Linked DNA regions of Homo sapiens: region 2 is linked to region 1. The links are contacts of gene promoters, found by promoter capture Hi-C in human tissues and cell types (Jung and others, 2019). All regions are on one chromosome and are shown on one strand. Each heading gives the region's core, a stretch centred on a gene start or on the middle of the fragment in contact. The rest is flanking DNA. Distances are from core to core; before and after follow the strand shown. Region 1 holds the start of FOXJ2 (forkhead box J2). Region 2 holds the start of DPPA3 (developmental pluripotency associated 3).

What was found. The method cuts DNA at HindIII sites, captures the fragments that hold promoters and counts their contacts. A contact is called where the count stands out against the background at its distance.
Region 2: the fragment with the promoter of DPPA3 here is called in contact with the fragment with the promoter of FOXJ2 in region 1 in 3 of the 25 tissues and cell types used here (mesendoderm cells, neural progenitor cells and thymus).

The regions. Positions count from the first base shown.
Region 1 is chr12:8,031,331-8,034,072 of GRCh38, forward strand. It overlaps FOXJ2 (forkhead box J2), which reads left to right and starts at 1,386. Exons shown (of 11, transcript NM_018416.3): 1 at 1,386-2,503. RefSeq lists silencers at 1,071-1,220, 1,241-1,480. The HindIII fragment of the contact is 12,101 bases long and covers 1-2,742 here.
Region 2 is chr12:7,710,008-7,712,768 of GRCh38, forward strand. It overlaps DPPA3 (developmental pluripotency associated 3), which reads left to right and starts at 1,426. Exons shown (of 4, transcript NM_199286.4): 1 at 1,426-1,645. The coding sequence starts at 1,564. The HindIII fragment of the contact is 17,940 bases long and covers 1-2,761 here.

The sequences.
Region 1 (2,742 bases), core at 136-2,635:
TGACTTCAAGTGATCCCCCCGCCTCGGCCTCCCAAAGCTTTGGGATTACGGGCGTGAGCCACTGCGCCTGGCCTCCTATTATCTTATGTGCTATAAAGTAGAGAGTAGGCCGGGCCGTGTTTCCTGCCTGTAATCCCAGCACTTTGGAGGCATAAAAAGGGAGAATAGTTTAAACCCAGGAATTAAAGACCAGCCTCGGCAGCATACTGAGACCCTGCCTCTATTTAAAAAGAAGAAAAAGATAAAGAAAGAAAGGAAAGAAAGTAGGGTAGTTTGATAAAAGTTTAAAAAGCCTGAGTATGGGCCGGGCGCGGTGGCTCACACCTGTAATCCCAGCACTTTGGGAGGCCGAGGAAGGTGGATCACGAGGTCAGGAGTTCGAGACCAGCCTGGCCAACTTGGTGAAACCCCATCTCTACTAAAAATACAAAAATTAGCCGGGCGTGGTGGCGCGCGCCTGTAATCCCAGCTGCTCCGGAGGCTGAGGCATCCCAGCTGCTGGGGAGGCTGAGACAGAAGAATCGCTTGAACCCGGGAGGCGTAGGTTGCAGTGGGCCCAGATCGTGCCATTGCACTCCAGCCTGGGCAATAAGTGAAACAACACCTCAAAAAAAAAAAAAAAAAAAAAAAAAAAGCCAGAGTATGAAATATATGAGAATTTGCAGCAGAATAATATGACTTCAGGATGTGACAGCTGTAAAGGGTAAGCAGGCCAAGTATCAAGGTCCCTTCTTCGCTGAGCAAGATTGCGGAGAACAAGGGCCATGCACAAGTTTAGGAAGCTGAAACAAGGAACAGGACCCAGATCTTCTGATGTTTATTTCACCGTTACACGCTCATTTATCATGTATCCACTCATTCAAGGAGCATTTACTGAATTCCAGGATGATATAAGGGTAACATATAAACTTCACCCCAATCTTCACCTCAATGCTCATGATCCTTTATAAATTATCTCGAGGGAAAGAGAAGCCCATCAAAGACAGTCCTGAGAAAGCTGGGGCTGTTCATCTGTATACGGAGTTTAACAGAATGAAACGCCGGAGTTGGGGTGTCAGCTGGAATTGACGGTATACGGTGCGCACTAGGGACTCTCCCGACGGGGAGCAGTGAGTTGTCATCCCGGGTAGACGGCGAACTCCCGGAGCCACGCGGCCGCAGGTGGGCGAGGGCGGCGAGATCCCTCGCCGGCGTGAGAGCGGCCGTGGCTCTCCAGGCGGAGCGCACACCGGGTAGCGAGGCTCGCGGCTCGGCGCTGCCCGCGGCTCGGCGTCTCCCGGCTCCTCCTTAACCCGCGCCGGGAGGCGGTGGCGGCAGCGGCCGGCGGGCGGGGGAGGGGGAGGGGCGCGGAGCGCGGCGCGGAGGCCGGGGAGGAGCCGGGGCCTGCAGCGGAGCCGAGCCGAGCCCGAGCCCGCGCCGAGCCCTGACACTGTCTGCCCGCCTTCTGGCTCCCCGGGAGCCCAGACTGGTCGGAGCCCGAGCGGTGGCAGCGCGGGGAGCCCCACGCGCCGAAGGGAGCGGACCCGACAGGACGGCCCTAGAGGAGGTGCTGCCGCCACAGTAGCAGGGACCGGAGTCTCGAGCCGCGGCCTCCCGGACCGTGCTGCCCAGGCCAGCTCAGGGACAGCCGGGAGTACGAAAGCCCCACCCTCTGGGGCACCCCGGGAGCGGAGGCGGGAGCGGGGACGCGAGCAACCTCTCCCCCTGTTGGAGAGAAAAGACCCTTACCACTCGGGTGAGGGAAAGAAGAGACCCCTGGAGGGGACGCCTCTCTCCTGCCTAGAGGCGAGGAAGACCCCTGTACTGGCCGGGGAGGAGACCCCCAGAAGTGGAAAGAAGGGAGCTTTCCGTAGGGAAGCAGAGTGAGACCACCCTAGCGCGCCCCCGCCCCTCCAAACACACACTCTCAACAGTTCAGGACTTTGGAGGCAAAGAGAGACGGGGCTGTGCCTGTGGAGTAGGCACCCTCGGCCCACCACTATTCACAGGAGACAGGAGTCCTTACGTTCAGAAGCCACTCCAGGGAAAGAAGAGGAATCGGCTTTCAGCCTTCTGGAGAGGGGAAGACCTCCCCCTCAACTTCCTCGTGCCTAGACAGTGGAACGGGGTGGAGCCCCTCCGCTCCTATCTCCAGCAGACAGAAAGAGCCCTCCACCTCAGAAAGATCCAGTTTGGGGGGGAGGGGAACTCCCCCAAGGGGGAGGAGACAACTCCTGGTTGGGAGAGGCTCCTCCCCTCCTCCCCCGGGTAACAAGCAGGGTGTGGGGGGTGTGCCACCTTCCCCAAGTAGGACCTCCTTCTCCTCCCCCTCCCCCTCCTCCAACCTTGACTCCTCATCCTCAGGGGACCCAGTTCCCCTCACCAACTTGGGAGGCTCAGCCTCGTCCAGGAAGAGCCACTGAGGATGAGAGCCGTCACCTGCCTCTGAAGAGGGGAATCCCTCCAACCCCAAACTCCAGTACCAGGTGGTTCCCTCCCTTTGCCGGAGGAACCTTGGAGACAGGTTAGTGCTTTCTTTCATCTTCTCTCTGTCATTGTCTGGCACTAGTGGGTGTAGGGGGTTGAGCTGGTGGATCGTGGGTTTCACTGCCGGGGAAGACAGAGTGATGACTCAGAAAATCCAATGGGAAATGTGATCCAAGGGAGCTCCTGGATTTGAACCCACATCTTGCTGCAGAAGCTCTGAGAAATGGGTTTCTTAGTGTTTGGGGACTAAAGGGATGGGATTCATTTTAGGTCCCT
Region 2 (2,761 bases), core at 176-2,675, 320 kb before region 1:
TTTCAGCCCTTTTTGTTATCTCACCTCCTAATCCTAAACCCCCTGCAATGGGATTTTTTTGTATTTATCTCTCCAGTGAAATTCTTGCGGACTGATTATCAGAGATTCCCCAGGCAAGAGGGAGATTAGCCAAGAGCTGAACAACAGAAGTAGAAAGTTCACAGTGCCGTAAAGCAGGGCTGCTTAACTTGAGCACCCATCAGAATCACCTGGGGATCACTTCTGGGTCTTCTGGCTAAATGCAGAATTGCCTGGGAGGCTTGTTAAAGCATTACCACTGGGCGCCAGTCTTTGATTCAGTAGGGCTGGTTTGGAGCTCAGAATTTGTATATCTAAGTTAACTAGGTGCTTGTTGTAAACTGCACTTTTTTTTTTTTCCCAAGAGGCAGGGTCCTGCCCTGTCTACCAGGCTGGAGTGCAGTGGCACGATCATAGGTCACTGCAGCCTTTAACTGCTGGGTGATTAAGCGATCCTGGAGACCACACTTTTGAGAATCACTTGCATAAAGTGTTGGGACATGATCTATGCCTATGGCTGCTCATTCTCTATGAAAATATTTCTTAATCATAACTTCAATTTTTGCTTTTTACCAAACCCAAACAAGGTTGCCTTTGAGTATTTTCTCGTGGTTTCCACCTAGAGAGGGAATGGGGGAACGTGCGTATTTGAATAAGACGGGAAAAAGATGAGAGGGGCAGCTGGGGACTTGTTCTTCCACCTCCTGCAGACAATCAGTGGTTAAATGTTGTTGTGCTTTGCTACAAATACAAGCATTTTTTTGTGGGGAGGGAGTAGCAATTTGTAAGGTTAGTTAATTTCAGCTGCTCAGAAATGTTAGGTACTGTTTATAGTTTATAAAGCAAATTAACAAATAAAAAATACATGTCCCTAAAATATCAAGCTATGAAAGTGTTCATAACAGATACTTCTTCATTATTCCTCTCTTCTTAGTAGCAGCAAAGGTTTAAGATGATTGAAGCAAGGAAAACTTAAAGGAAACTTTCTCAGCTTAATTGGGAGTTTATGGGCAGTGGTGGTGGTGGGGCGGGGGCGGTAAAAACTGCCATTCTCCTCTGCACTAGAACACTTAAGCCCAGTTCACAAAACAGAAGCCATCTCCAGGAGTAGAGTTTGGGAAAAAAAAAAAAAAAAAAAAACAAGAAAAAAACAACTTATATGTAAGGCAACCTCAGGGAGACAGAACCACAAAAAGAGGATTTTAATAAATTTTCTAGCAGATATGACATCCGACAGATTATTTTAATGCAAAGCAGATGAAGAACTACCCTATGAGTCTAAACTACACCCATTCACCTTTAATCATTTGGATCCCTTAATCCTCTAATCATGGGATCATTAACATTCAAATATCCTGGAAGATTGGCTTATCTGTATTTTAAAAGGAAGCCGGACCTATAGTTTACGTCAGTTCTTTGACCATTCGTTGGAGCTCCGGTTTTCAGCCTCTTTCCGGGCTACCTGGTAGCAATTTGAGGCTCTGTCATCAGTTTCTGCTACGTTTCAAAGATCCTGGAGAAGCCTAGTGTTGTGTCAAGACGCCGATGGACCCATCACAGTTTAATCCAACCTACATCCCAGGGTCTCCACAAATGCTCACCGAAGAAAATTCCCGGGACGATTCAGGTAAGCCAGATAATGCCCTTCTTGACTATCTGACTATAGGGGGGTTGGGAGGTCAAAAGGCTGCCGTCTTTTTTTTTTTTTTTTTTTTTTTTTTTTTAATGTTGACTTCAGTCTTTGCAAGAGGAATGTATTTAGGTAAACCTCAAACCAGAGGGAGTCAACACAGAGAGGTCAAAGACTTTATTAAAAGCGGTGATGGTGGTGGTGAGAAATGTATTATTTTATTCACTATGCTTAGGAGTACTTCAGATTTCTTTCTTTTTTTTTCTTTTTTTTTTTTTGAGACGGAGTCTTGCTCTGTCGCCCAGGCTGGAGTGCAGTGGCGCGATCTCGGCTCACTCCAAGTTCCGCCTCCTGGGTTCACGCCATTCTCCTGCCTCAGCCTCCCAAGTAGCTGGGACTACAGGCGCCCGCCACCGCGCCCGTTTTTTTTTTTGTATTTTTGGTAGAGACGGGGTTTCACCGTGTTAGCCAGGGTGGTCTTGATCTCCTTACCTCGTGATCCGCCCGCCTCGGCCTCCCAAAGTACTGGGATTACAGGCTTGAGCCACTGCGCCCGGCCAGTACTTCAGATTTCTAAGACCAGTTTCTGGGGATAAATAATTGGAATCACAGAACGCGGCTCGTAGCGTCGTTGCATCAGTATCTTCCCCAACAGCAAATACATGTCAGGAACGGTAAAAAGGAACAAATACAGAGACCAAATAAACAAAAGATAGGGAAAAAAAATGAAACAATATGAGAAACTTTAACTTCAGTTGAACCTAAAGTTTTTCTTAATCTCTCGCCAACATTATTTTTATTTATATATTTTTTTGAGACGGAGTCTCTGTCGCCCGGGCTGGAGTGCAGTGGCGCGGTGTCGGCTCACTGCAACCTCCGCCTCTCGGGTTCAAGCAATTCTCCTGTCTCAGCCTCCAAAGTAGCTGGATTACAGGCATGTGCCACCACGCCCGGCTAATCTTTTGTATTTTTAGTAGAGACAGGGTTTCACTATGTTGGCCAGACTGGTCTCGATCTCCTGACGTCGTGATCCGCCCACCTCTGCCTCCCAAAGTGCTGGGATTACAGGCGTAAGCCAGCGCGCCCGTCCTATTTTTATTTTTATTTTTATTT